Regions from separate parts of the Homo sapiens genome. Here regions 1, 2, 3, 5, 6 and 7 are each linked to region 4. Evidence: promoter capture Hi-C in 16 types of primary human blood cells and fetal thymus (Javierre and others, 2016). All regions are on one chromosome and are shown on one strand. Each heading gives the region's core, a stretch centred on a gene start or on the middle of the fragment in contact. The rest is flanking DNA. Distances are from core to core; before and after follow the strand shown. Region 1 overlaps PCNX1 (pecanex 1). Region 2 overlaps PCNX1 (pecanex 1). Region 3 overlaps PCNX1 (pecanex 1). Region 4 holds the start of TTC9 (tetratricopeptide repeat domain 9). Region 5 overlaps PCNX1 (pecanex 1). Region 6 overlaps PCNX1 (pecanex 1). Region 7 overlaps PCNX1 (pecanex 1).

Region 1 (2,748 bases), core at 100-2,599, 300 kb before region 4:
ATCTCTAGGGCAGGAGCAAAATGCCGCCAGTCTCTTTGCTAATAAAGCATAGCAAGAGTCACCTTTATTCCAGTCCCTAATAAGTTCCTCATGTCCATCTAAGACCATCTCAGCCTAGACTTCATTGTCCATATCACTATCAGCATTTTGGTCAAAGCCATTCAACAAGTCTCTAGGAAGTTCCAAACTTTCCCACATCTTCCTGTCTTCTTCTGAGCCCTCCAAACTGTTCCAACCTCTGCCTGTTACCCAGTTCCAAAGTCACTTCCACATTTTTGGGTATCTTTTCAGCAGTGCCCCACTACCTGGTACCAATTTACTGTATTAGTCCATTCTCATGCTGCTATGAAGAAATACCCGAGACTGGGTAATTTATAAGGAAAAGAGGTTTAATTGACTCACATTTCTGCATGGCTGGGGAGGCCTCAGGAAACTTACAATCATGGCAAAAGGCACCTCTTCACAGGGCAGCAGGAGAAAGAAGTGAGTACCCAGCGAAGGGGGAAGCCCCTTATAAAACCATCAGATCTGGTGAGAACTCACTATCTCAAGAACAGCATGGGGGAACCACCCCCATGATTCAGTTATCTCCACGTGGTCCTGCAGTTGATATGTGGGGATTATCACAATTCAAGGTGAGATTTGGGTGAGGACACAAAATCAAACCATATTAATCACCAAATGATGTAATCAATCATGACTACATAATGAAGCTTCTATAAAAACCCAAAAGGCTTGGACTCAGGAGCTTCATGATACCTAACACATGGAGGTTTCTGGAGGGTGGCATGCCCAGAGACAGCATGGAAGCTCCAGGGCCCTTCCCACATGCCTTGCCTCATGCAACTTTTCATTTGTATCCTTTGTATTAATAGTATCTCCAGGTAGACAGTGTCAGAATTGAATTGAATTGGAGGATACCCAGCTGGTATCTGCTGAAGCACCTGCTGCAGAAATTGGTTGACTGCTTGGTGTGTGGGGACACCCCCACACATCTGCTGTCAGAAGTGTTCTGTGCTGTGATAGCATAGTAGGAGAAGAGTTTGTTTTTTCTATAGCCTCTCAACTTGCAAACATTTGTCAGATAATTTAAATCCTTAAAAATGAATACTAAATTTACAAGTGCAATTTGATAAGGTCTTTATTTAAAAAAAACCTTTTTAATTATTGTTAAAATATGTTAGACCTGTAAAGAGTTGAGTTTAAAATTCTTAGTTGTAAGATGGCCGAATAGGAAAAGCTCCAGTCTACAGCTCCCAGCGTGAGCGATGCAGAAGACAGGTGACTTCTGCATTTCCAAATGAGGTACAGGGTTCACCTCACTGGGGCCTGTCGGACGGTGGGTACAGCCCACAGAGTGTAAGCCAAAGCAGGACTGGGCATCACCTCACCCGGGAAGTGCAAGGGGTTGGAGAATTCCCTTTCCTAGCCAAGGGAAGCTGTGACAGATGGCACCTGGAAAATCGGGACACTCCCACCCTAATACTGTGCTTTTCCAATGGTCTTAGCAAACAACACACCAGGAGATTATATCCCACGCCTTGTTCGGAGGGTCCCACGCCCACAGAGCCTCGCTCACTCCTAGCACAGCAGTCTCAGATCAAACTGCAAGGCAGCAGTGAGGCTGGGGGAGGGGCGTCCGCCATTGCTGAGGTTTGAGTAGGTAAACAAAGCTGCCAGGAAGCTCTAACTGGGTGAAGCTCACCGCAGCTCAAGGAGGCCTGCCTGCCTCTGTAGAATCCACCTCTGGGGGCAGGGCATAGCTGAACAAAAGGCAGCAGAAACTTCTGCAGACTTAAACGTCCCTGTCTGACAACTTTGAAGAGAGTAGTGGTTCTCCCAGCACAGAGTTTGAGATCTGAGAATGGACAAACTGCCTCCTCAAGTGGGTCCCTGACCCCCAAGTAGCCTAACTGGGAGACACCTCCCAGTACGGGTCGACTGACACCTCATACAGCCGGGTGCCCCTCTGAGACGAAGCTTCCAGAGGAAGGATCAAGCAGCAACAATTGCCATTCTGCAATATTTGCTGTTCTGCAGCCTCCACTGGTGATATCCAGGCAAACAGGGTCTGGAGTGGACCTCCAGCAAACTCCAATAGACCTGCAGCTGAGAGTCCTGACTGTTAGAAGGAAAACTAACAAATAGAAAGGACATCCACACCAAAACCCCAACTGTAGGTCACCATCATCAAAGACCAAAGGTAGATAAAACCACAAAGATGGGGAGAAACCAGAGCAGAAAAGATGAAAATTCTAAAAATCAGAGTGCCTCTTCTCCTCCAAAGGAATGCAGCTCCTCGCCAGCAATGGAACAAAGGGACAGAGAATGAGTTTGACGAGTTGACAGAAGTAGGCTTCAAAAGATCAGTAATAACAAACTTCTCCGAGCTAAAGGAGGATGTTCGAACCCATCACAAAGAAGCTAAAAACCTTGAAAAAAGATTAGACAAATGGCTAACTAGAATAAACAATGTAGAGAAGACCTTAAATGACCTGATGGAGCTGAAAACCATGGCATGAGAACTACGTGATGCATGCACAACCTTCAGTAGCCGATTCGATCAAGTGGAAGAAAGGGTATCAGTGATTGATCAAATGAATGAAATGAAGTGAGAAGAGAAGTTTAGAGAAAAAAGAGTAAAAAGAAAAGAACAAAACCTCCAAGAAATATGGGACTATGTGAAAAGACCAAATCTATGTCTGACTGGTGTACCTGAAAGTGACAGGGAGAATGGCACCAAGTTGG
Region 2 (2,700 bases), core at 199-2,698, 360 kb before region 4:
CACCTAAGAAACTCCAATTGCATTCCCCACCCCCCCTTTTTTTTTTTTAGACAGAGACTCACTCTGTCACCCAGGCTGGAGTGCAATGGCACAATCATAGCTCACTGCAATCTCAAACTCCTAGGTTCCAGTGATCCTCCCACCTCAGCTTCCTGAGTAGCTGGGGCTGCAGGCACACGCCACAGTGCCTGGCTTACTTTTTAAAACTTTTTTGTAGAGATGGGGGTCTTGCTATGCTGCCCAGGCTGGTCTCGAATTCCTGGGCCTAAGTGATACCTCCTGCCTCAGCCTCCCAACGTGCTGGAATTACAGGTGTTAGCCACCACGCCCAGCCTGTTGCATTCTTGACATCACTCATTTTTCTAAAGTTACCTATATGTATCTTGGAAGGAGGTGGTTACTAGAACAACAAATCATCCATAGTGTTTTTCTAATCTTCCAAGTACCAACAACAAAAGAGGTCTCTTAAATTTCTTGGATAATTTTCTTCTTTAACCACCTACCTCCCCCAACCTTCCCTTCATTCTGTGTCCTCCAAGCCTGATGCACTGTCTACACTGACTTCTCTTTTTTTAAGTATTACTCATAGGGCAGAGAGGGGCTATAAAAACAAAGAGAGATATATGGGCAGTAAATGTATAAAGTGAGTTTTTAAAAGACATTTGGGGGAACATATACATTCTATATGACTGAAGTACTCAATAATAGAAATGTTATTCAAGAAATAATCTGATGGAGATAGCACTGTGTTCATAATGCAATCTCAATGAATATATTATACTTTTAAAGAGAAGGCCTTTAAGATCAATTCTAATTTCTTGGATAGCACCCCCCTTATAATCATAAGTGGTGACTCAGTTTTTACCCACACAGAAATTACTCACTATATTGCTGCTTACTGGTTAATGCAACGGTCCCCAACCTTTCTGGCCCCCAACCTTTCTGGCATAAGGGACCAGTTTCATGGAAGATAACTTTCCTATGGATCCAGGGGATTGGAGGACGGTTTCAGGATGAAACTGTTCCACCTCAGATCATCAGGCATTGGATTCTCATAAGGAGTGGGCAACCTAGATCCCTTGCATGTGCAGTTTACAATAGGGTTCATGCTCCTATGAAAACTGAATGCTGCCACTGACCTGACAGGAAGCGGAGCTCAGGCAGAAATGCTCGCTCCGCACACCCTGCTCACCTCCTGCTGTGCAGCCCTGTTCCTAACAGGCCGCAGATCCATGCCAGTCCATGGCCTGGGAGTTGGGGACCCCTGGGTTAATGGACTTGTTTCTCCCTAGATTAGGGGAGAAATAAAAAGGTCAGAAAACTTTTCCTGTGAAGGGCCAGATAATACATACTTTAGGCTTCATGGGCCAGATAACCTCTGTTGCAACAATTCAAGTCTACAACTGTAACATGAAAGCAGGCATAAGACAATACAGAACATAAACACAAATTTTATTTATTTACAAAAACAGGTAGGTATAGAGCTGGACTTAGCCCACAGGCGGTGGTTTACTAACACCTGTCCTAGACCAAGAATCTTAGGCTCCAAAAACTTCTTTAATCCTCATGATACAATGGAAATCAGGTCACTATGTCCTTGTAACTTCAAGTTTCAATATTTAGAACAAGTCTTTTTTCTTAGTATGTGCAATGCTGTTCTAGCTTTTTAAATCAGAAGGATAAGGAAAAGGTAGGTATAAGAAGAAAGTCTGGTTTAGAAGACAGCTTTGGGGACTGGTAAGGAAAGACAGATATCTCTATTGCTTGGCAACTATAAGTGAGATTTACATACTGATATATTTTACTGACATGGCTATCTGATTATCTAGTTCTGAGTTAATAAAACATGCCTTAATTAATTGTTAAAAACTCCACTCCTGCTTGCTAATCCCCAAATCAGCTGAACTTTCCAAAAGTGAATGTACAAGTTCATATTTTGCTGTGATTTCATTATCCACTCACATTTTATTTCAAAAAGACAAGTTCTTCTTACTTGGGTAAAATAATCTATAATAACGACATTGATGACATTAAGACTGGTCAGGTAAACAAAAAGACAAGCCACAGAATGGGAGAAAATATTTGTAATTTGTATCTGACAAATAAGTTGTATTTAAAATATCAAAAGAACTCATACCTCAACAGTTAGAAGACCAACAACCCAGGCTGGGCGCAGTGGCTCATGCCCGTAATCCCAGCGCTTTGGGGGGCCGAGGCGGGCAGATCACCTGACGTCAGGAGTTCGAGACCAGTCTGACCAACATGGCAAAACCCCGTCTCTACTAAAAATACAAAAATAAAAAAATAGCTGGGCACGGTGGCACGCACCTGTAATCCCAGCTACTTGCGGGGCTGAGGTAGGAGAATCGCTTGAACCCAGGAGGCAGAGGTAGCAGAGAGCTGAGATTGCATCACTGCACTCCAGGCTGGACAACAAGAGTGAGACTCTGTCTCAAAAAAAAAAAAAAAAAAAAGAAGACAACCAACAACCCGATTTTTAAAATGAGTAAATTTCTGGACACACTTCACAAAAGAAGATATATATGTATGTGGCCAATAAGCACATCAAAAGATGCTTACTATCTTTAGTCATAAGAGAAATTCAAATTTAAACCACAATGAGTTACCATTCTATACCCATTATGTCTACAATTCTAAAGGCCAACAAAAGCAAATGTTGGCAAGAAAGGGAACTACTGG
Region 3 (2,700 bases), core at 168-2,667, 340 kb before region 4:
CTAAACTTTATGCATGTGTAGGTAAAAAAGAAAAAACATGCAAGCAATTCAAAAACCGTGAATGACAAGAAGTATAAAATACTTCCAAGGGTATATATCCAGAGAGTTGTATATTTTGAAATGTATTTTTTCTAACGTACAAATCTCAACTTTCTAATCATTTATTTGTGTTAAAAAGACTGACTTCACAATCATAATAAGTTTAAGAGGAACCTTCAGGCCTGGCGCAGTGGCTCACGCCTGTAATCCCAGCACTTTGGGAGGCCGAGGTGGGTGGATCACCTGAAGTCAGGAGTTCGAGATCAGCCTGACCAACATGATGAAACCCTGTCTCTACTAAAAATACAAAAATTAGCGGGTGTGGTGGCAGGCGCCTGTAATCTCGGCTACTCGGGAGGCTGAGGCAGGAGAATCACTTGAACCCAAGAGGCGGAGGTTGCAGTGAGCCAAGATCGTGCCACTGCACTCCAGCCTAGGCAACAAGAGTGAAACTCCATCTAAAATAAAATAAAATTAAAAACAAAATAAATAAAATAAAAATAAGAGGACCCTTCAGATAATTTAGCTGTTTCCTTTTGTTATACTGATGCAATCACTCAATTAAGTTTAAGCATTTACTAAATGCCTAAGTTCAATTCATGGACAAACCAAAAATATCCTCTTACATTTTAGACAGCTGTGATCTGGTCCATTCCTGAAGATAACAAAGGAAGTTTAATCCATAATACATACCTCCCACCTCAGGAGTTACTTCACATTTATCTCAATGAGATAAGGAAAATTCTACACATTCTAAAATGAATTATTTTAGTGCAACTATTTATTTTTTATGGTAGTATTACAATTATAGACTATCAGTTGGTTCTACTCTGTGAATAAAAGCATAGAAAGCATTAAAGGCACTAATATACTTTTAGAATAGCTGGGATGCCCAAAGAGCAAAATTTAATGAGGTAGGAGGTAATGGCTATCCAAATTCTATCTCAAAAATTGGAAGCTGTGAGTATAAATACACACAGATAAAGATGCTATTTAAAAATGATGTCGGCAGGTCGCGGTGGCTCACGCCTGTAATCCCAGCACTTTGGGAGGCCGAGCCAGGCGGATCACAAGGTCAGGAGACTGAGACCATCCTGGCTAACACGGTGAAACCCCGTCTCTACTAAAAATACAAAAAATTAGCCGGGCGTGGTGGTGGACGCCTGTAATCCCAGCTACTCGGGAGGCTGAGGCAGGAGAATGGCGTGAACTCAGAAGGTGGAGCTTGCAGTGAGCCAAGATCGTGCCACTGCACTACAGCCTGGGCAACAGAGTGAGACTCCGTCTCAAAAAAAAAATGATGTCAATCATATACCTGATTAATTTATGAAAGAAATAATATGTAATAAGTCACTTTCTAGTTGTCATGTACTGCTATGGTTGGCATCTTGCAGTAGCTCAATTTCAATTAAATTAATAAAAATTTAGACAGAGGAAATTGCTCAAGTGTTCTTTCCAGTGAGAAATGTTTATCGTGGGGGGAAAAGGTGTAAATCTGGAAAGATCACGAAAATAAAAATAGGCATTTAGTACTTCAAAAAGATCAGAAAAAATGCTATTAGGAAATTAAATTCTTAAGAAAGATGACAAAAGTATGAAACAAGTATATATATATCTCAGAAAAAGAAAAGGCATCTGCAAACATTCTGAAACACATTGTAATGTTCAGGATAAAAGGGATTTTACCCAACAACAAAATTACTATATAAAGACATAAACATTCAAGTAATTTTGCAAAAACATTCTAAAAGGAATGTTTTAGTCTAGGCATGAAATCCACTTTATCTAAATAGTTTTTCCCTTTCTTAGTTTCTTTGTCAGCCAAGAACGATGCTACCATCAACATACAAAGATTTTGTTCCAATGAAAAAACAAATGCTTTTCAAGCTCATTCTTGTTGGAAATAACAAAAAATAAGTAAATAAATAAATGTTTTTAAGTGTCATTTTCTGGGAAGCCAAACACTGCCCAATTTCTAAGCATCAATTCTGAATTAAAATAATTTCCATCTGTGAAAACATTTTAAAGGACTGGCCTACTTTTTGACAAGCCAAGGAACCAGAGCAAACAGTAACAAAATTATTAGCTATGGGTGGGCACGGTGGCTCACGCCTGTAATCCCAGCACTTTGGGAGGCCGAGGTGGGCGGATCACAAGGTCAGGAGTTCGAGACCAGCCTGGCCAATATGGTGAAACCCCATCTCTACTAAAAATACAAAAATTAACCGGGTGTCGTGGCGGGCACCTGCAGTCCCAGCTACTCGGGAGGCTGAGGCAGGAGAATCGCTTGAACCTGGGAGGCGGAGGTTGCAGTGAGCTGTGATTGTACCACTGCACTCCAGCCTGGACAATAGAGTGAGACTCCGTCCCAAGAAAAAAAAAAATTATTAGCTGAGCTTTGCGTTAAAGATAATTTGCACATCCTTACTGATATTTTCCACAAGTCCACCAGCCAAACAAATATAGCTTAAGTATTACTTATACTTTTATAGGTGATTTCTAATCCTTTTTAGTCCTTTGTGAATGGGATGAAAGATATCAACCCGTTAGATACAATTTTGCATCCACTTTCAGGAGAGTCCCTTAATAAAGGGTCAGTAGTGATGAACACATGTATTCGAAGTGACATTTTTGAGAGGGGACACATCCTTACAAATGAAA
Region 4 (2,785 bases), core at 157-2,656:
GGAATGTTGGAATGTACACCTTCTTTGCCCAAGAGTAGGGCCCCCTTTTCCTTCACCCCTAGCAGCCAGCTGGCGTGAGGACTGATGCTACACATAGTGAGAAACGGGCAGGGAGGAGAGGGAGAATGCAGCATAGTTCAAGCCCAACCATGAACCAAGCTTCTTTTGAGATAGAGATCTTCACCTGGCAACCGGGAGCCCCAGCAGAGCTCAGAGAGAAGAAAGTGGCATTCTGGAATCCATTTTGCTCAAGATGCTGAAGGCATGGTGTCAAACTCCCCTTTGCTACTGGGGCCAAAAAACTTGGGGAAGATCTTACCTACAGGGATGCGGTTAGTTGGGGAAAAGGCGAGGACCAATCCTGGTGCTCATGCTACCTAAGGAGAGCAGACAGGTGCGTGGCCTCCCTTGGGACCCACCCGCAGGAAAAAGCTGGGCTAGCGGTGGCTGCGGGGGCCCACCCCGGGCGCTGCTTCCGCATTTTGGACCCAGGTCCACTGGTGAGCAGTAGCAGCAGCAGCCATAGCCAGGCCAGCTGGGTCCCCTTCCAGTCATTTCTAGGTGAGATTTACGATGTATGCTAGCGAAGGGACAAGAGATGATTATGGCCTTTGAAAGGCATAATCCTGAAAGTCACACTTTTTCCAAAGCGCCTCCCTCCCGGGTTCTCCCCAGAGCAACACAGTCACAGCAGGAGAATCTGCACCGCGGGAGCGCCGCAGTGGTCCGCGGAGGGACCGGGCCGAAGAACGGGGACCGCGGCGCGGGGGGCGCGGCGCGGCTCACCTGCCAGGCTGTTGTAACAGTCGATCTCGATGGCTTCCACCGTCTTGCTCTGCTCCTCCGAGAGGCGGCCGGGCTTCAGGGCCCCAGCCGGGGAGGCCGGGCGCGAGTCCCGCTCCCGTTCCCCGGGGGGCGGCAGCAGCCCCTTCAGCTCCAGCAACGCCCGGTGGTATTTGCCTATGGCTTCACGGAATTTCTTGTCCTTGTAGCACTGCGCCCCTTGGCTTTTGAACTCGTGCGCTCGTCGGATGAGCTCGGCCGGCTCGGCCGCCGCCCCGACCTGGCCCCTCGCTGGGGCTCCTCCGCCGCCGCCCGGGACGCACAGCGGCGGCGGTGGCCGCTGCCCCTCTCCGGCCGCGGGCGGGCTCGGGTTCCCCTTGGCCCCGGCCGCCGAGCCCTTTCTCTCCATTCGGCCGCCGCCCCGGCGCCTGGTGCGCGCCGCGATCTGCCCGCCGCCGCCGCCGCCGCCGCGCCTTCCCGGGTTTAAAAGCCGCGGGCGCCGGCCCCGCGCCTCGCAGGCTTCGTGGCGGCCGTGACACCCCGCGGCGGTCTGGCGCCCCGCACTCCCATTCTCCCCGCTGCTGCCAGAGGCTGCTCCAGCCGCCGCCGCCGCCGCCTCGGACGCCGGCCCCTCCCCCGCCTCCCGGCTCCGCGCCGCCCGCTCCCGCCCTCCTCCCTCCGCAACCTGCGGGTGGCGGGGGCCGGTGCTCGCGGGCCCGGGACTAGCGCTGCGGGGGGACCGTGGCCCCGAGTGGGGTGGCGGGGATGGTCGCTGACCCGGAAGAAGCTTGGCTTGCCCGAAGGAGGGGAGGATTAATGACAAAGACGGCCCCGCTCTTTCCCATTCAATCCCGCTCTGCGAGGCGCGCCTAGTCTGAAAGGAGGTGGGGGGAGGGGGGTAGGTGTAGGGGAAGGGGAGTGTGTGTGTGTGCGTGTGTGTGTGTGTGTGTGCGTGCGTGTAGGGATGGGGGGCGGCGGCGACGAAATGCGTGCAGAAATAGATTTCTTAACTACAAGAAAAGGTGCGGCAGGGAACAAGGGGCGCAGGCGCAAGCCGTAGCTGCTAGTTCTTTGCAGTAAGGTGTTAGTATTTTTTAAGGGGGCAGGGCCTCCTTTTTGTGGATCCAGGTTGTCGCTGAGGTGTGTCTCGGTGTGTGTGGTCGCCGGGGCGTCCAGAACGCGACGGGCGGTACAGCGTGTGGGGCGCCGTATTCTGGGAGCCTGTGTATGCGTGTGCTGTGTGCGCGCAGCTGTGCAGGATGAATCACAGACATCAGAGATGGAGAACACCTGTTACTGTGGGTCATCGGCTTGGCGTGCGTCCGGTCTAGTTTCCATTTACAGGACAGTTCTGTGCCCTTCCTCAGGAGGTCCCATTCCTTCCTTCTTTTGGTCGGTTCTGAGTGTCAGCTGTCTACTGGGGATCTGCTAAGGCTAAGAGGCAAAGATAGGCAAGTCACTCCCCTGACCTCAAGAAACTCCCAGTCTACAGGCGAAGATACACCACCCACCGGTAGAGTCGCTGGACCAGGTACAGATGGTGCCTGTCATTGGGGAGGAACGAAAAGTGCTGTGCAGCCCTGAGGGGGGGAGGGAGAGGTAGCTTTTTGAGTAGTGGTAGATCAGGAGGCTTTATGGAGGAAATAGCATTTGAGGACCTTGAAGGCTGGGTAGGATTTGGCATGAAGAAGTAGAAGGAAGTGGCATAGCCGGAGTGAGGAAATCCAGCGGAAGTCCTGATGTTTGAAATCTCAGGTGTGTTTAGGGCATAGTGGTTTGATTTTATAGCCTAATGAGAAGTAGTGGGAAATGACGGGGTTGGATTATGGGGGCTTTTGGATGAAGAGTTTGGATTTGATTTTGGAGTCAATGGAGAAGCCTGACATATTTTTTAGTGCCCTCCCTTCCTTAATGTTAAGAAAAAGAAAGATTCTAGAGCACCGGTTGTCAGAGTGCTGGCCCCAGACCTGCAGTGTCAGCATCACCTGGGAAACAGTTAGAA
Region 5 (2,700 bases), core at 3-2,502, 270 kb before region 4:
AAATGTTTAACTCCCACTTATAAGTGAGAACATGTGGTAGATGGTTTTCTGTGTAAACCATCTTTGGACAGTGTACCCTTAATTTATTATAGGTAATATAATACATAAGAGTTATATCTGTGCCATGACCAGTTATGGAAATAATTAGACTCACTTTGATCCTAAATATTGAAAATACTGGTAAAGGGCACAGGCTAATAGATCTAAACAGGCCATCCACTAGTCATTAACCTTCCCCTAAAGGATGCAGAAAATAATACTTAAAAATCATATGTACAATATGCAATAGCAATATAAATTGCTAATTTATAGCACAGTAACTTTTCTAGCTTGATCTAAACTTTTAGAGAAATATAAATTTTAAAATATGAAAATCCCTGTTTTAGTCACCCTAACTAAATCTTGTTTAAAATGATCTTTAAATACTTTTAAATTGGGGGAAAGAAAATGACCTGAGAGCTTTAGCGTAATCCTCACTAATAAAAGATATATCATTCTAAAGATGACAAAGATCAGTTACAGAAAACAATGAAGACAACTAGGAAGAAAATGTTGAAACCTTTATAAATTTTGTTAATGATTTAGAGTCTGAATATAATCTCTCCACAGATTTATGTGGTATATATTACTGTATATATCATGTATGTATGTATAACCACACAGCTGTATGCACAAAAAGCCATACGTACTGCACTTTCAATGACTTAAGTGTTTTTCAAGGGTCATTTTGTATTTGATTTTTCAGTAATTTTATATTTGATTTTTGTCTTGTAGAGACTGACACCGAACCTAACCCCTAAGTAAGCAGCTCCACCATATGATACAGCCTACCACAATCCTCCCTCCACCTCCAACTATTCTACATCAGTTAACAAGTCTAAAAAAGCTTCACATGTATAATAAAAAATTCATTCAACAAATACTTCTTCAGATCCTAATATGAGCCAGGCAGTCATGCAGACACTTGATAAACACTGATGAGTAAATCAGACCTGGCCCCTGCCCTCATGGAACTTACAAGGTATGGAAGTGGAGGATGATCGAGAGGACAAACAAGTAAACAAACAAAAAATATATGTTTGTGTTAAGTGCTATGGAAGAAAGTTATGGAATGGAATGATGAAAAAAAAGAGAGGGAACCTATTTATGGTTATCAGGCTCAGCCTCTGTGAGGGGATAATACTGAAGTCCAGCCCTAAAGATTAAGTAGCAGCCAGCCTTGCAAAGAGCAAGAAGGAAGAGTATCCTTTCAGAAGGCACAACACGTGCAAAGGTCTCACAGGAGGAAAAGGCTCAGTGGGCTAAAGTAACAGAAAGGCCAGTGTGACTACAGCACAGTGGGAAAACTGCACAAACTGTAAACAAAGGCAGAATAAGCTCTGGTGGCTTAATAAAGATTCTGGATTTTTTTCTAAGTGCCAAAGAAAATCTTTAAAGAATATTTAAAAGAATGACACAGATTTATGTCTTTTCCTCTGAGCAGAAAGTGGTAAGATTTGCTCAAAAGCAAGGGGTGGGGGATAAGCAACTAGATACAGACAGTGCCATTAACTAACATGACAGAGTGAGGAAAAACATTTTGTGGCAGTGTTGTTTAGGGGGGAATTCAGAAGCTTTTGGGCATGATACTTTTGGGATGCCTGTGAGACAGCCAAGAGGTACGTTGAGTAGCAGCTGGATGTCAGTCAGGGGCTGGTAGTTAGGAATATTGATCAAGTTATTTAAACTTACCTAGAATGTTTATAAAATACAAATCAATAGGCCACACTCCAGATCTACCGAATAAGAAAGGGCTTGCACATCATTAACATTGTCAAGTGATTCTGATGTCAACTGGAGGAGTCTGGGAACCACTTACGTAATAAATTTTAACGTTCTTTTTTTTCTTTTTTCTTTTTTTTTTTGAGACAGAGTCTCGCTCTGTCGCCCAGGCTGGAGTGCAGTGGCACAATCTTGGCTCACTGCAAGCTCTGCCTCCCAGGTTCACAACAGTCTCCTGCCTCAGCCTCCCGAGTAGCTGGGACTACAGGCGCCCGCCACCATGCCCGGCTAATTTTTTGTTTTTTTAGTAGAGACGGGGTTTCACCGTGTTAGCCAGGATGGTCTGGATCTCCTGACCTCGTGATGATCTGCCTGCCTCGGCCTCCCAAAGTGCGTGAGCCACCGCGCCCAGCCATAAATTTTAATGTTCTATTTCATCACCTAGGGATATATTGCTTTACAGAGGAAAACAATATATTGAGCAATATGTTATGAAAATGATTTGACTTAATAATCCAGAGCTATTTAGTCTCCTACAGTCATACAGCATTATAGAGGAAACACTTCCAATTAGCCATTTTTTCAAATGACATTTACTGAAGGCCATTCTGAAGGTAAATAATTTCTTCTATTTCATAAATATTTTCTTGAAAAACACCCATGAAATATCTCACAAATGAGTAAATCAAGGTTCAGAAAGGTGGAGTCTTGCCCACAGGACACACAATCAATAACAAAGCCAAGATTCAAAAATCAAGACACTAATTCCAATCTGCTTTCCACCATACAAAAATGCCACTCACCCCCAAAAATCTCATCATCTGTGACATGTACAAAAATCACTGTAACTAGATAAAAAAGAATGAGTACCTTAAAGGAAACAGACAGGACAATCAGAATTAAGAAACAAAAATTTTTTCTTCATTTTCACTACTTAAA
Region 6 (2,700 bases), core at 99-2,598, 380 kb before region 4:
CAGATAATATTTTTGTCTAAAGTCACGAAGTGAATAACAAAGTTTTTATTCAATGGTCTTAACACCAGACTCAGGTATTACTTCTTTATTCTTGCTCCTAATGGTTACTCAAGTGAAATAATATAAAGTTTTTCCTACTTCAAAATTCTATTTTCAATACCTATTCATAAGCTATTATTCAAAATGTATTAAACACAAATAATCATGAGTTTATAAGAACCATGTCTACTCCCTGAAACAGACTATCAAAAAGTGAATTATCATGCTCATTTTCAACCAAGATTTAGAGTCCACAAGTACAATGTCATTTTATTTCAAGCTAACAAAACACCTATATTTCTAGTAGTGTGTCAAAACATAGATGAGGAAAATAATAACATAAATTTTAGTTCAGGCTGATGCATTCCAAACAAAACAAAAAAACAAAAAACAAACCACAAATATTATGATAAATGTTAAGGACCTATAATGTACAGCCATATTAAGAGTGACTTACATGTCTGGGAGAAGAAGAATCTGGTTGAACACTCTAAAAATGAAACAGAAAGACAAATTACACTCCTGAAGTCTTGCTAATTTTACAACCAACTTTCAAAATGCCTGAAATGAATGATTTTAAGTAAATATTCCACAACCACAAAATGACCTATATTAATAATTCTGTTCCAGAGATGAAACATCAGCTCCAGATACCAGTGTCACTGTGATATTAAAAACATATCAAATCTTTCCTGATAAGAGTCAGGAAATAAGATTATTATGTATTTATTTGTATCTATCTTAAAGTTTCTGCAATAGCATATGATAGACAGAGCCATCTTACTGTTTGGCTTATTGCTATATACAAGTGGAGTTAAGGTATACTAAATACAAGTATAGTATTTCTCACAGGACATCATTCATTCAGGAAATATACAATAATAGGGGTTCACTTATAACAACAATTCTAGTTCTGCCCATAAATTCCAAGCTTACTAAATAATTCAATGGTATTTGTAATAAAGATATTATCTGCATTTTCATATCAAAATAATCAAATAAGTTAAGCTGTATCCTTTTAAGAGATTTTATTAACTTCCCATAAAAATGTTCAGAAGGTATTATGCAGCTACTTCCCTACTCATGACTTTTCTCCCAAGTTTCAGTTCATTTCCAATGGCATACCATACAATTTCACTAGGATTATCTATCACCACCCTACCATTCGATACTGGGCCAAGCTCACTGAGTTTGGCATTTGGCCCTTGGCTAGATTTGACTCCAGATAATCTTTAAACTCTTTTAACCACAGCGCCTATCTTCTAAATGCTTCTGTTCTTGTCTTTCTTATCCCTGTTTATGACATTATTATTCTTCTAGTCAACTAGTTGCAAAAATCTGTCACCTTTTACCTTTTCCATATTTAACCACATTAACCTGAAAGCAGTGGACAAAATTAATTGGACCATGGAGACACTAGAGCCGCAAAATGAATTTAAATGATTTAGGGCACTAAAGGTATAGTGCAAGACTGACAACCAGTAATTTTAATATACAATCATTAAATGTCATCAAAGGGACTGGGTTACTTGTTATTAGTGATCAAGGAGGAAGGAGCAGTGACTCAAAGATTTTTAGCAGGTATATCACTGCCAAAAGCAAAGATATTGGGAAAGAAAAATTAACCAGGAGATGATTAATTTGCTATTTTTAAAATGTCTGTTAGATACACAGGACTAAAGCTTGCAAAAGAGGTGAAGACTTTGAGATATAAATCTGGAAATAACTCATATACAAAGGCAACAAATAAAGCAATAAAAAAGGATGACTTCACTGGAAAGGAACTGTAAACCGAGAAGATAACCACATAAGTCCTAGAGAATTCTCATAAATTAAGCAGTTGAAAGAACAAAGAGGGATCAACAAAGGAAAAGAGAGTCATCTGAAAAGTGAAAGAAACATGAGGGTGGTATAAAGTCATGATCAAAAATGAGGAGAATATCAAAATGGAAGAGTATACATAGGTATTAAATGATGTAGCATTCATAAAGCATGGAGACTTAAGAAAAGCAATTTAGCAATTAGAATGATCATTAGCAACCACAAAGACTATAATTTCAGTACTGCAATGAGGAAAGTATGGATGGGTCTTAAAGAAATAAAGCAGATGACCTAGGTGGCTTACTCCACATGTCTAGCTATAAATGGAGAAGAGAAAGAAAGGATGGACAGCTGTTAGTAAAAACAGAACTATGTCAATGGTTTTCCAGCTGTGGGAGGGCTTCTCTTCAAGGAGAACTACAAACCACTGCTAAGGAAATAAGAGAAGACACAAACAAATGGAAAAACATTCCATGCTCATGGATAGGAAGAATCAATATTGTGAAAATGGCCATACTGCCCAAAGTAATTCACAGACTCAATGCAACCCCTAGCAAGCTACCACTGACTTTCTTACAGAATTAGAAAAAACTACTTTAAATTTCATATGGAACCAAAAAAGAGCCCACATAGCCAAGACAATCCTAAGCAAAAAAAATAAAGCTGGAGGCATCACGCTACCTGACTTCAAACTATACTACAAGGCTACAGTAACCAAAACAGCATGGTACTGGTACCAAAACAGATATAAAGACCAATGGAACAGAACAGAGGCCTCAGAAATAACACCACACATCTACAACCACCTGATCTTTGACAAACCTGACAAAAACAAGCAAT
Region 7 (2,700 bases), core at 119-2,618, 320 kb before region 4:
ACATTTGCTATTTTTCTGCTAGAATTAAATATAACTTCCTAGACAGAAATTTAAAAACAAACAAGAAAACAAAAACACCATTTTATGCATACCCATCTAGGAATTTAAACTTAAAAAAAAAATTTTTAAACACGGATATGGTAGTCATTTGCTCAGAAGCTCAAAGTATTCCCTTTCTCCTTCTTTAACAATCTCCCTATTTTGTTCCAAAATTGGTCATACACCTTCTGATATATGAGAAGTACACCCAGTCCCTGGTCTAGAGGTAGGTGTATGAACTAGTTCTGGTGAATGAACGTGTGGGAGAATCTGCTGGAGGGCTTCAGGAAAACGTCTTTGTGTGTCTGAGAAGAAAGTGATCAAGGAAAATCTCTGTCCCACACTACTGCTTGCTTCCTAACTTTTCAAACAGGGTCTTGATTGAAGCTGCTGTGCTCATCCTGCAACCCTGAGAAAAAAGCCTAGAGAACTGCAGAGATGCCAATCCAGAGGCCTAACGTTAGGCTGCTGAACACAAATGCCACACAATCACCTCCAGATTTAGGTGAAAAACAACTATTTCTTTAAGTCACTATTAGTTGAGTATTCTATTACTTGTTGACAAAAACATTCTTAACAGGTATAATAGAGTGGTTATATTTTATTCTTCATACTTTTCTGCATTATGCTTCCCCTCAAAAAGAATCATGACTATTTACAAGTGAAACAACAGGGCTCCAGAATATAAACTATAGTATATCCAAATGCAATGCATTCCCCAAAGTGTCACTGTAGAAAAACACTTAATGATATTAATGCTCATGATACAATCAATTATGACATAGATTATTTTAATTTTCCTGTTTGCCCTCACTCATTAAATTTCCTAAAAATGAAAATGTAAAGATTAAGAAAAAACAGTATCTTTTTACACTTGAGGGTGAAGTTTTTTATTTAAGTGCTTTGCATAAACTAAAATATTCCACTGTTTCTTCTCTATGACAAGTGCCATAGGAAGGATTATGGATACCAGGGAAGAAAGGTTACTTCTAACTAGAGAGCATATCAGGCAAGGCCACCTGCCCCAAGAAGCCATGCCTGTCTCTCCAGCTGGAAACAATTATTTTATCCTATGAAATCATTAGCTCTTCTTCTCTACCATTCCTATGGCAATTTTTACTTCGTTATCTTTTTTTTTTTTTTTTTTTTGAGACGGAGTCTCACTCTGTTGCCCAGGCTGGAGTGCAGTGGTGCCATCTCAGCTCACTGCAACCTCCACCTCCCGGGTTCAAGCAATTCTCCTGCCTCAGCCTCCTGGGTAGCTGGGAATACAGGTGCATGCCACCACACCCAGCTAATTTTTTGTATTTTTAGTAGAGACGGAGTTTCACCATACTAGCCAGGCTGGTCTCAATCGCCCAACCTCGTGATCCACCTACCTCGGCCTCCCAAAGTGCTGGAATTACAGGCGTGAGCCACCGTGCCTGGCCCCTTGGTAACATATATCACATCTTTATCTTTGGTTACTTATATCACACCTACTATGAGATCACAATCTCTTTCAGTATAAGACCCACTCCCCAACCCACACTAAGTAGAATGCCTTGAATACTATTGGGCGCTAAAATATTTGAAGGTAGAAAAGTGACAAAAGGAAAGAGAAGGAGGTAAGGAGAGGAATGAAAAGAAAGAATGGAAATGATGGGTAGAAGATGAAAGGGAGAAAGGCAGAGGTGAAGGAAAGAATAGTAACAATGACCACGATGTAGCTACTATGGTCAGTGGGTTCACTGTTTAGTACCCAACAAATTTATATAAAATATGATAATGTGTAGCAGTATCTTACACATTATATAATAAAATACATACAAGAAACAACAGTATGTCTATAATGGTAATATCTCCAGCAATATGCAAAAAGCCAGACTCTTCCTCCTCACTTCAGCTTCTCTAAAGTGTAAGAATAATTATGTCAACCATTTATTTTGTCATAAACAGTATAAAACGAAAACACTAAAATCCAAGTAGCACAATAACCTCCAATATTTGCCCATTTTTATTAAAAAGTTATTAAGTAAAAGGTATGCTGTGTGTTTAACAACATGCACACATGCTTTAATCACAGTCAAAAAGGGACTCCCTCCCTAAAACAAACAGGCAAGTTCCAACAGACACGATGCCAAGGTCACAGGATCCAAAAGTGCCTGGCCACTGCTGGCCCTTTCATCTTTCCTTTTTGTAAAAAGGAAAAAAGGTCTCCAAAAGATGATTGGAGAAATGTAGGCTTACTCTCTGGGGGTCTGATACTACCTACGTCTGTCAATAAGAAGAAAGCCCAGGGTTAATTAAGAATACAAGACATGCAGCCATATTCAAGAATTGAGTTATTTCATTCTATAAAAAGAGACAGAGAAACACAAGGCCAACAAAAAAACAGGATCAAGGATAGTAACCCTTGTCTTCAAACAGGCATTGTAAAATTTGAAACAAAAAGTATCAATCTAAGGCTGGGCATGGTGACTCACATCTGTAATCCCAGCACTTTGGGAGGCTGAGGTGGGCAGACCACCTGAGGTCAGGAGTTCGAGGTAGTCTGGACAACATGGTGAACCCCATCTCTACTAAAAATGCAAAAAAATTAGCCAGGTGTGGTGGCAGACACCTGTAATCCCAGCTACTTAGGAGGCTGAGGCACGAGAACAGCTTGAACCTGTGAGATGG

The links. Contacts are between HindIII fragments. The CHiCAGO score rates a contact against its expected background, and 5 or more counts as called.
Region 1: a fragment that was not itself captured here is called in contact with the fragment with the promoter of TTC9 in region 4 in 2 of 17 cell types (non-activated CD4 T cells and total CD4 T cells); the score reaches 5.1 in non-activated CD4 T cells.
Region 2: a fragment that was not itself captured here is called in contact with the fragment with the promoter of TTC9 in region 4 in 6 of 17 cell types (naive CD4 T cells, activated CD4 T cells, total CD4 T cells and 3 more); the score reaches 7.5 in naive CD4 T cells.
Region 3: a fragment that was not itself captured here is called in contact with the fragment with the promoter of TTC9 in region 4 in 5 of 17 cell types (total CD4 T cells, naive CD4 T cells, activated CD4 T cells and 2 more); the score reaches 7.0 in total CD4 T cells.
Region 5: a fragment that was not itself captured here is called in contact with the fragment with the promoter of TTC9 in region 4 in 1 of 17 cell types (non-activated CD4 T cells); the score reaches 5.7 in non-activated CD4 T cells.
Region 6: a fragment that was not itself captured here is called in contact with the fragment with the promoter of TTC9 in region 4 in 2 of 17 cell types (total CD4 T cells and non-activated CD4 T cells); the score reaches 6.3 in total CD4 T cells.
Region 7: a contact is called between a fragment that was not itself captured here and the fragment with the promoter of TTC9 in region 4, in 6 of 17 cell types (total CD4 T cells, naive CD4 T cells, non-activated CD4 T cells and 3 more). The highest score is 12.2, in total CD4 T cells.

The regions. Positions count from the first base shown.
Region 1 is chr14:70,940,725-70,943,472 of GRCh38, reverse strand. All of the region lies in intron 1 of PCNX1 (pecanex 1), which reads right to left. All of the region lies in intron 2 of LOC105370557 (a long non-coding RNA gene), which reads left to right. Among named protein-coding and RNA genes, the nearest start is that of PCNX1, 35 kb to the right of the region's middle. The HindIII fragment of the contact is 1,267 bases long and covers 716-1,982 here.
Region 2 is chr14:71,002,855-71,005,554 of GRCh38, reverse strand. The region is part of intron 8 of PCNX1 (pecanex 1); the gene reads right to left. Among named protein-coding and RNA genes, the nearest start is that of PCNX1, 97 kb to the right of the region's middle. The HindIII fragment of the contact is 5,736 bases long and covers 1-2,700 here.
Region 3 is chr14:70,983,032-70,985,731 of GRCh38, reverse strand. The region is part of intron 6 of PCNX1 (pecanex 1); the gene reads right to left. Among named protein-coding and RNA genes, the nearest start is that of PCNX1, 77 kb to the right of the region's middle. The HindIII fragment of the contact is 3,468 bases long and covers 1-2,700 here.
Region 4 is chr14:70,640,537-70,643,321 of GRCh38, reverse strand. TTC9 (tetratricopeptide repeat domain 9) reads right to left here and starts at 1,406. Exons shown (of 3, transcript NM_015351.2): 1 at 787-1,406. The coding sequence starts at 1,192. TTC9-DT (TTC9 divergent transcript) reads left to right here and starts at 2,024. Exons shown (of 3, transcript NR_110071.1): 1 at 2,024-2,314. RefSeq lists silencers at 852-921, 942-1,131, 1,352-1,501 and enhancers at 1,972-2,231, 2,332-2,511. The HindIII fragment of the contact is 1,411 bases long and covers 162-1,572 here.
Region 5 is chr14:70,911,439-70,914,138 of GRCh38, reverse strand. All of the region lies in intron 1 of PCNX1 (pecanex 1), which reads right to left. Among named protein-coding and RNA genes, the nearest start is that of PCNX1, 5.3 kb to the right of the region's middle. The HindIII fragment of the contact is 727 bases long and covers 889-1,615 here.
Region 6 is chr14:71,021,029-71,023,728 of GRCh38, reverse strand. It overlaps PCNX1 (pecanex 1), which reads right to left. Exons shown (of 36, transcript NM_014982.3): 13 at 497-529. Among named protein-coding and RNA genes, the nearest start is that of PCNX1, 110 kb to the right of the region's middle. The HindIII fragment of the contact is 751 bases long and covers 973-1,723 here.
Region 7 is chr14:70,964,151-70,966,850 of GRCh38, reverse strand. All of the region lies in intron 3 of PCNX1 (pecanex 1), which reads right to left. Among named protein-coding and RNA genes, the nearest start is that of PCNX1, 58 kb to the right of the region's middle. The HindIII fragment of the contact is 3,015 bases long and covers 1-2,700 here.